Linked DNA regions of Homo sapiens: region 1 is linked to region 2. The links are contacts of gene promoters, found by promoter capture Hi-C in human tissues and cell types (Jung and others, 2019). All regions are on one chromosome and are shown on one strand. The core of a region is centred on a gene start or on the middle of the fragment in contact, and the rest is flanking DNA. Distances in the headings are between cores, read along the strand shown. Region 1 overlaps OBSCN (obscurin, cytoskeletal calmodulin and titin-interacting RhoGEF). Region 2 holds the start of WNT3A (Wnt family member 3A).

Region 1 (4,855 bases), core at 109-2,608, 350 kb before region 2:
CACCCAGAGCTAACCTCCTCTCTTCCCTGAACTTCAGTTTCCCCATCTTCCAAATGTGAAAATCGGGCTTGGGGACCTCTAAGGGCCCTAAGGCTGTGCTGTCCACTATGAATGCACTATGTAAATTAAATTCAAATGAACAAAAATTAAAATTTAAAATTTGTCCTTCAATCACACTGGACAACATTCCGGATGCTTCAACAGACGCAAGTGGCTAGTGGCTACTGTGGTGGACAGGGGAGATATAGAACATTTCTTTTTGTTTTCTTCGCGACAGAGCTTGCTCTATTACCCAGGCTGGAGTGCAGTGGCACGATCTTGGCTCACTGCAACCTCTGCCTCCCGGGTTCAAGCAATTCTCCTGCCTCAGCCTCCTGAGTGGCTGGGATTACAGGGGCCCGCCACCACACCCGGCTGATTTTTGTGTTTTTAGTAGAGATGGGGTTTCACCATGTTGGCCAGGCTGGTCTCAAACTCCTGACCTCAGGGGATCTACCTGCCTTGGCCTCCCAAAGTGCTGGTATTACAGGCCTGCGCCACTGCGCCTGGCAGATATAGAACATTTCTGTTACCACAGAAAGTTCTGTTGGACAACACTGTCGTAAATCCCAGGGTGCTGAGGATTAGAATTCTGTCTCTGGCCCACTGAGGAAAGCAGGTCTCAGGCCTAGCTCCTGATGAACCCCTGGATGAACCACTGTGAAGTGTGTGGAATAAGTCTACTCTGCTGAAACAGTGGGACCACGGAGTGTACTGAGGCCCTGGAAGAGAGCGCTGTGAAGTGTGGAAGTAATCGAGGCCCCAGGGGAAGGTGCCTATGCAAGGTAACTGCAAGTACCTGTAAGGTGCTGGCAGTCAGAGGGTGCATGTTATGTGAGCAGACAGGCAGCAAGCAGGTGGCTGGGCCACACAGGCATGATCCAGGCAGGTCAGTGGCATGCAGGAGGCACTGCAGTCAGAAGGAAGGTTAGGAACACGCCTGCACTTACATGATGACGGTTTTCTTGGGGACTTTAGTCTCTTGCTCAGTGACTACAAAGAAAACAGTCGGAATAGCGAGGGTTACAGACCAGCCAGTGCTAGGGGCTGAGCTATCGGAGTGGCACAGCGTTGTAGTCACCTGCTAAGCTGCCCCTGGGCAGCCTGTCTACTCAGAGCCCCAGTTCCTGGGCCTCTGACATGGAGGTGACGATGCCTGTCCTGAGTGGCTGCGGAATGAGGGCTGAGGACAATGCTTCCCCTCGTGAAGGCAGGACCCACTGTCCCTCTCGAGGGTCTTGCAGGGACTGGGGGGAGAATGAGGACCCTACCTACGCTCCCTGCACAGAAATTCCAGCTTCTCCTTCAACCCATGTGCCAAGGGAGCCCCGTGAATTTGTCAGACCTACAATCCCACTTCTCAGACATAGAAACCGAGTCCTAGAAGGGAATAAATGGCCTGTGGCTGCACAGGGAGCCAGCGGCCACACTGAGGCTGAGGCAGCTGGGGACTCTGTTACAAAAAATCCTCAGGAGAGAGGGACTCTGGAGTCCTGAAAGTGGCACAACTGAGCTTTGTGGCGCAAAGCCACAGAAGTCCTACCAAGAACAGCCCCAGGGGATGCCTGGGCAGGGTGCTGAGCTCTGAGTGAGCGTCAGCCCAAATCTCCCTATAGGAGCATCCTCAGTCCACACACTCCATGGTCTCTCCAGGTTTTCCTAGCTGCCTCCCTCCCCAGAGCCAGCAGGATGGGGCCTGTGGTTCCAGTGATCGGATGGGACGCATCTGGGATCAGGCAGCTCCTCCTCCCAGTCACCTCAAGGACTCTCCCCTGCAGCTCCCGGGCAGAATCATCAGGGCACAAAGATGGCCCCCTCCCAGCCCAAGCCAGCTGGCCAGCGGGCAGTCCACGGGCCACCAGCACCTTCACATCTCAGTGACCCTCCCCAGCACCCTGAGGGAAAAAAACGAGCAGGAGGCCCAGAAGTCAAGTGACGTGGCCTGGGGCACATGGCCTCACAGCTCCGGGTCAGGGGGTGGGACACCATCTGCTTTGCTAGACTGCCATGTGGAGAAAGGCTTTACACCTGTCTCAGGTGAGGAGCACGTGAATTTCAGGGACTGCCTGCGTCTATATGTGCACTTGGGAGCCACAGTACTGTGCATTTCTGTGCACACACATGTGCAAGTGTGTGTATGTGCACAGATGTATGTGCATGCATACGTGTGTGCATGCACGTGTATACATATGTGTAGGTGTGTATTTCACAGGCTCCCCCTGGAGAGAGGAGAGCCCATGTGAGGAGAGAATGAGATCCAACCAAAAGGCTCTGTGTGTTTAGACTAAGCTGACCCCAGAGAAAGCCAATGTGTCCACTACCTGCAGGCCAGTGATGGGAACTGCACAGAGTGATGGGAAAACCCGGGGCCTCCCCACTCATCCTCCCTGCACTTGGGGCTGACAGCCAGGCACCTCTGGGCCCATACACTCTCTGGCACCTTCATTCATGGACCTAAACTGTCACCTGATCGGCTGTGGGCCAGAGTGAGTATTTGCGACTACAGGAGGGATGCAGCCGTGCGCAGCATGATTCACAAGTGAGGGGGCAGCGCCCACCCCGCAGAGGCCTGCCAGGGCCTGTTTGGGCTGCAGAGCTGCTGGGTTAAAGATGAAGCAGCAGGATAGGAGTTAGAAGCGGGGAGGCGTTGGCTCCAGCTCCAGGCTCTTCAAGGACCTGCATTCTCACCTTGCTGAGGCGCTGACACTCTGTCCAGCACTGGTGGCCTCTCTCCCCTGCCACCCCCTCCTCCAGACCCAGAGAAAGACTTGTTGTGACAGCCAAGTGAACGACTGTGGAGGACGCTCCTGTCACCAGCAAGAGGCAGCCCTGGGTGTCCCAGCTGGCCATGAGACACAAGACTCATGGGAGGCTGAGGTGCTGGCGGCTCCAGAAGCAGTTCTGTGTGGTGCTATGGCCACCAGTTGTGGGGCTGACGGAGGTCTCAGGGCCCCCAGAGACACGTCAGACATGGGGCACTCACAGTCGGAGGTTGGCCAGTGCCAGTGGCACCGTGTGGGCTGAGGAACAAGGACCTCTGCCCAGCAGGGGAGGGGTCTCCCTGAGGGTCATGGAGGGCATCAAAGATGGCCCAGCTCTGTGGGGTCCAGATGGGCAACTGGCTTTCAGACACTGGGCACTGGGAGAGACAGTTGAGGTGGGGTTGCAGGAGCCAATGTTTAAGACTTGGAGGACATGTATTCCAACCACTCCCACAGTGGCAGCTGCAGCTCTGCCAGGTGTTGGGCCAGCCTCCACTTGCATGTCCCCAGGGATGGAAGGCTCAAAACCTGTCCAGACGGGCAGCTCCAACTGGGAGCCCAAGACGGATGCCCGATGACCCTCTTCCCATCCTGGCTGCCCCTGCCCTGAACAAAGCATCCGGGAGCCTGGAGAAATGAGGTGATGTGCCCCACCTCTCCCTCCACCCCTTACCTTTCATCCCTAGTGAAGTCATTCTGCAGCCCAAGGCCCTCCCAGGACCCCAGGAGCAGCCCCAAACCAGGCCAGGTATCTCCACAGCCAGCCCTACCCTGAATAGAGGGGCCAGGCCCCTGACACTTGCTCCTTCTCCTGGGAGCCAAGCTGGGGCCCAGCGGCCTGGCCCTCTGCAGAGATGTCCTTCCTATTGTTCCTGCTGCAACCTCCCCACTGCCTTAGGCCCACCGCCTCCTGTCTGCCACCGGCGAGCTGCCCTGGGTGTAGGCCTGGCCTCTGCGCACAGGCTTCCCCTCTCCGGAACGCAGCGGCTTTGGGAACCCCGCCCACCCAGAGTGACCTCTCCAGCCTCCATCCAAGCCCTGGGCTCAGGGGCTACCCTCCACCAGCCCACACAGGTGCTGCCTCCAGCAGGGGGCTGGGACCTGTGCCTGGCCCACAGCAGCCTCCCCGTCTACCATCTGTGGCTCTCCCTGCCCCACGGTGCCAGCCCAGCCCCTCCTCCAGGGTCCTCCAGGCAGCAGACCCTGACTGGGAAGGGTGAGAGTCTTGTCCTCCTGGACACGGCCAGGCCTGTGAGGGTCCAGCCTGGGTCTGGGCCGTGGGGAGCCGCCTTGGTGGCGAGGACAGGGGTGGGACTTACCTTCCACTGCAGCCACGAGCTGCTCCCTGTGACACTGCTCCTGGGCCTGCAGCATGGGGCTCTGAATGCGCAGCTCCGCACTAGCCCGCGCGGAGCCCAGCCGGTTCACCAGCTGCAAGGACGGCAGGGCCGGCTCAGAGCCCAAGGCTCCCCACGGGTAGGGCCCTCTCCCTGTGGCCATGTTGGGAGCACGGGCAGCCCCCATCCTGGTGTGTCTCCCACAAGGGGAAGGGCCCCAGCCCCGCCACAGCATCCCTGGGGGACCCACACGGCCTTAGGGCCCCCTGCAGTGATGAGGATGCTCTCCATCTGCCCTGTCCACGTGCGGCTCTGAGCATGGGACATGGGGCCAGAGCAGCCAGGGAACTGAATCTTTAACTGAACTTAACTTCATTTTATGTATTTTTTAAAGCTGGGTCTCGCTCTGTGACCCAGGCTGGAGTGCAATGGCACGATCTCAGCTCACTACAGCCTTCACCTCCTGGGCTCAAGGGATCCTCCCACCTCAACCTTTCGAGTAGCTGGGATCACAAGTGTGCACCACTGTGCCTGGCTAATTTTTTAGCTTTTCTTTTTTTTTCAGAGTCAGGGTTTCAATATGTTGCCCAGGCTGGTCTCAAACTCCTGGGCTCAAGTGATTTTCCTGCCTTGGCTTCCCAAATTGTTGAGATTACTGACGTGAGCCACAGCACCTAGCTTTGGATTTAACTTTAGTTGACTTAAATTTAAATTTAA
Region 2 (4,490 bases), core at 1,172-3,671:
AATCTTCCCCGGCTATTAAGGCTATTAAACTGTAGGATGCCAGCGGCAGGGGTCCAGCAGCAGGGGTCCTGCAGCACTGCGTCCTTCTGTGAGTCTTCTTCCCTATGCTGCCGGGGTGCTGCTCATGCCTGGGGGAAGCCATGTCTTTGCTCCAGCCCGAGCAGCCTGCCTGGGAGCAGAGAGGGGATCAAGAAGGGGGCAGACTTGTCCCCAGGGAGCCAGCCTCCCCCAAGGGGAGGCTGCTTCTCAGGAAGCAGAGAATCCCCAAGTGTGAGAACCCTACTGAGAACAAAGTGGTGGTGGGGATGGGGGAGGGGTCCTCACCACCCACCCCGGTCAGTGTCAGGTGGGGTTCTATGCCCCGCTTCCCTGTGTGGCCAAAGGGCTGTCCTGGACTCTTGATAGGAGGGTGCGGAGGGTACAGGGACTTCACTTCTCTGCTCCTCCTGGCTCCCCTGCAGAATGCCTGACTGTCCCCGAGGGTGTCTCAGGGTCCATTCAGGGTAGAACACAGGGGGCCCAGGTGAAAAGGAGGTATACATGCATATGAGGTGGATGGGGACCGAGGCTAGGAACCCTCAGGGCCGACAAGACAAAGATCCTAGGGCGCGGGGTTGCCAGGAGGCTGGCGACATTTATGGGAAGGGCGCGGGGCGAAGGAGCTTCCTTTTGCGCTCAGGAACGCGGCGGCGGGTTCTAATTAGAAGCCTGGTGCGTAAGCCGGCAGCCCTCGGGGCTCTCTCGGACGGACGCGCTGCCCCTGGCTCCCTGCGGCCGTCTGGACGCGCGTCAGTATCCCCGCACCCCAAGGCGAGCCCCGAGCCTGACCCTCAGGTGGGCCACTGGGCGCAGCAGGTGCCGCACGGGAAATGGGGCACGCGGAAATAGGGGCGCGCGGGGGTCCCCGAAGCGCGTCCCCGCGGCCTCGTGGCCTCTTCCAGGCCCTTCAGCTGCCTAGGGCTGCCCCTTCCCCTCCCCGCTGCTCCTGGCCCGGCGCCCCTACCGCGGGAGCCCCCGCTCCTGAACCATCTCGAAGAGAAAAATTATTATCGGATTAGATGTACCTCGGCTCGCTGGGTCTCCCCCCTTCCCCTCGGCGTAATTATTATAATTCCAGGCTGCCGTCGGAGAAGGATGGGGGGGAGTGTGCATGCTTGTGGGGAGGCTTCTCTCCAACTGTGGGTCCTACCAGCGCTGCGCCCGGCCCTGCGCGCCCACATTCCTCCCACTTGTGTTCCTCAATCTTGGGCATCTCAGAGCGCCCTTAATTCGGAACTGGGGTGATCCTTGCTTGGTGAGGGCTCTGAGGGATCACAAGCCCTGGCGAAAGTGTGGCCACCGTTCCCCCTCCCACAGGATATGTGCAGTGGAGGTGGGAGGCCTGAGAGAGACCTTTCGGGACCCTTCCTTTGGTTTATCTGCACTTCCATCGCCAGGCTGGGGAGGGTCTCACGGAACGCGCCTTTTCTGGTGTGGAGGGCGCAGCACAGCGCTTTCTGATTGAGGGTCCTGGAGCCCCTCACACCCCGTGCTTAACTCACCCTTAACTCTCTCTACAGCAGCCCCTCATTGCCAGGTGGACCCATGCGGAGGGCTCGCAGAGAGGGCCCCTGGAAACCCCCGTGCCCGGACTGCGGCGGGGAGGCGCGCGGGGCCCAGGGCCGGCCCCCAGTGCGCCCCGCCGCCGGCTCTGCGCCACTCCCCGCCGGGTCCCAGCTTTCTTTACGTAACCACGCTGCTCCGAGCTGTTCAGTCTTGTCTCATCGACTTTGTTTTAAAACGTGTGTGTGTGTTTGTGTGTAAGATACGGTTTTTGAGGAAAGTCTCCGGCGAATTCTCTCTCGCTGGCCCTCTTCCCTCGCCTGTCCCCTGGCCTCGAGCTGCCTGTCCCCTCGGTGACCGTGCGTGCCGACCTTCTTTCAGCCTCTCCCCAGCCCACTGCTCGCCCTGTCCGACGCCAGGGGCAGCTAGGACCTCCGCAACCTCCCCTACTCCCCCGCTCGGGAATCAATGTCTCCGGAAACTCCGCCACCCACGCGTCCCAGCGGCCTGAACAGGTCCAAAGTGGCCGTCAAGGAAAACCAACCGCCCGCGGCCCGCACGCGGGGCTGGAGCAGAAGGGCGCGGGCTCGGGCCACCGCGGGGTCCCTGCCCGAGGGGACCGTCTGCTGCGGGCGCGGCGCACAGGGGCAGGGGCGAACGCGAGGAGGCTCACTCACCACCAGATCGGGTAGCTGCCCAGAGCCTGCTTCAGGCTGCAGAGGAGTAAGAAGTATCCGAGTGGGGCCATCGCCGCGCGAGAGGGCGCGGAGGGCCGGGAGTCCGCCCCGAGAGCGTGAGCGCCGGGGGGGGCCGGGCCCTGGGAGCTGGCGCGGCGGCGTCGCTGGGCCCTCCTGCGGCCGCGGGTGCGCGGGTGTGCGCGGGCTCCGAGGGCGGCGCTGCGCCAGGTGGGCCGGCGGCCGGGCTGCGGGCCGAGGCCCGGGGCGGCGCGGGGCGGCGGGGGCGGGGCAGCGCCGCGGGGGGCGCCCGCCGGGGCCGGGGCCCGGGCGGGGCAGGCAGGGGCAGGCGGGGCCACGGGAGCCCGAACCGCGGCGGCGGCGTTGGCCCCCGCCTGCTGCCGTGGGTGTCGGTGTGTCTGAGGACGTGCTGGTGTGCGGGCCCCCAGGTGTGCGCGGCGCGCTGGGGTGCGCCAGATGGGCAGGCGGCCGGCCCGGGGCCGCGCGATCCGCAGGCGCCCTCCTGGAGCTCCCGGGCCGCGTCCTGGGTTTCCAGCCCCGCGCGCCCTGCGCTCACGGTGGGACCCGCAGTCCCCCTCTCGCTCCTGGTCTGTGGCGAGCTCCGTCTCTTGCCCCCGAGGTGGCTGGGCTAGGGCTCCCCTTCATCCATCAACCTTCTCGGGGCGGGGGTTTGGGGAGGGAGCGGACGGTTGTCGGGTGCACGTCCTTTGGCCCCGTCTGCCTGCGGCCGGACTCCTTCCGCTGAGACCAGAGCTGCCTGCGCCTTCGGCGGATAGAAAGGGTCCGGGATGGGTGCAGCCTGCAATGGGGACAGCGGCCAGGTGGACCTCCAAGGTGCAGCCACGCGTCTGTGGGTCACAGCTGGGGACGAGTGGGACTCTCTCTGTGGCGCAGGGATTGACCCCTCCATTTTTCTCCCCATCACTCCACCAGGGAAGAGAACAGTGGAAGCCCCTGACGCGATGGGACGGTGGGGAAGCGCAGTGCTGCCCCCAGGTTCTGGGACCACCAACCTCCAGGTCTGCCCAGAGCTATGCAGCCTGTTCCGACAGAGGGATTTCTGACTGTTTAGTTAAGCTTTAGGAGTTTGCTGATGGAGAGGGGAAGACCTGAGAGGGAAAGTGACTTGCCCAAGGTCACCCAGTGACCAGTCAACTCTCCAGCTCCCAGTCATTTGCATATCCATGTGTTGCCCCGGGAGCCGCCTGGGGAGATTGTAATTTGCAGAGGGGAAGTGTCCCCAGCCTCCCCCGGGGGACCTGATAACTGGGATGGTTAAGAGGCACTCTCCCATCGCGGCTGGTCCTCCTGCAGTCACACTGTGACCTAAGCTCAGCAGGAATCTTGGTTACCGCGTTGGAATTGAGGAAGGAGGCTCCGGGAGCTTCTGAGAGCTCCAAGCAACTCCAGACTCATCCGTGGTGTGTTCTCTGGGGATACTGCACTGCCCAGCCTGTGGGCTAGGCCTCCTGTGCGGCTGCAGAGTTGCGGGAGGGAGGTGCATGGAGAGGCAGGGATGGGCATGTGGCCGCTTCTGTGCAGCTTCTCAGGGAGGGGGTGGCTGAGATGTCCCCAGGTGTGTCACTGGCTGGCTGATGGAGGCAGCTGCTTCCCACAGTGTGCCCCACTCACAACTTGGTTCTGCGTTTGCAGAGGGAGCCTGTGGTCCTGTGGACACCGGCCCTAGGGGTCACCTGGTGACTATGTCAGGAGTCCTGAATTCAGAGTGACAGCCTTTCTCTTTGAAAAAAAGTTCCCTTTGCTCCTCACTACCTTGGGAATCCAGTTTCCGCTACGCATGCCCGGCCGCCCACCCGCTTCTCCCAGGCACTGCGGGGCCCCCACCCTCAGAGGGAAAGAGGGAAGAGCTCTGGAATGAAGCGGCGGTGGGGTCAGGGAGGGGGAGGGGAGGAGCGTGTTTGTGCTCCTCTGGACTTGGCCTTGCAGCAAAAATCCCACCCAATTGTGGTACTGGGGAAAACCTGGGCTGCAGGTGGGGTGGGCGCCTGAGCCCAGCCTGAGGCACGCAGACTCTTGTTACCCCCACCTCCCCAGAAATGAGGCTCGGGGATTAGAGCCCCCTAGAGGATGCCAGCTCTGCCCACCGACAGGATGGGCCTCGTGACCTCACTGAAGGGGGCAGGTGAGCGCAGCCTGCTCAGTCCTGCCCTCTTGCCCCTTGGTTTCCCAAGCCCCTCCTCCTGGCTGCTTTCTTCTCCCCCATCAGGCCCCATCCTCTGCCCGTGCCACCTG

Evidence for each region. Contacts are between HindIII fragments. The study calls those that stand out against the background at their distance.
Region 1: a contact is called between a fragment that was not itself captured here and the fragment with the promoter of WNT3A in region 2, in 1 of the 25 tissues and cell types used here (spleen).

The regions. Positions count from the first base shown.
Region 1 is chr1:228,352,328-228,357,182 of GRCh38, reverse strand. It overlaps OBSCN (obscurin, cytoskeletal calmodulin and titin-interacting RhoGEF), which reads right to left. Exons shown (of 116, transcript NM_001386125.1): 90 at 4,121-4,232. It overlaps LOC101927401 (a long non-coding RNA gene), which reads left to right. Exons shown (of 9, transcript XR_007066915.1): 9 at 1-146. Among named protein-coding and RNA genes, the nearest start is that of TRIM11-AS1, 40 kb to the left of the region's middle. The HindIII fragment of the contact is 8,299 bases long and covers 1-4,855 here.
Region 2 is chr1:228,004,929-228,009,418 of GRCh38, reverse strand. It overlaps WNT3A (Wnt family member 3A), which reads right to left and starts at 2,421. Exons shown (of 4, transcript NM_033131.4): 1 at 2,220-2,421. The coding sequence starts at 2,290. The HindIII fragment of the contact is 17,022 bases long and covers 1-4,490 here.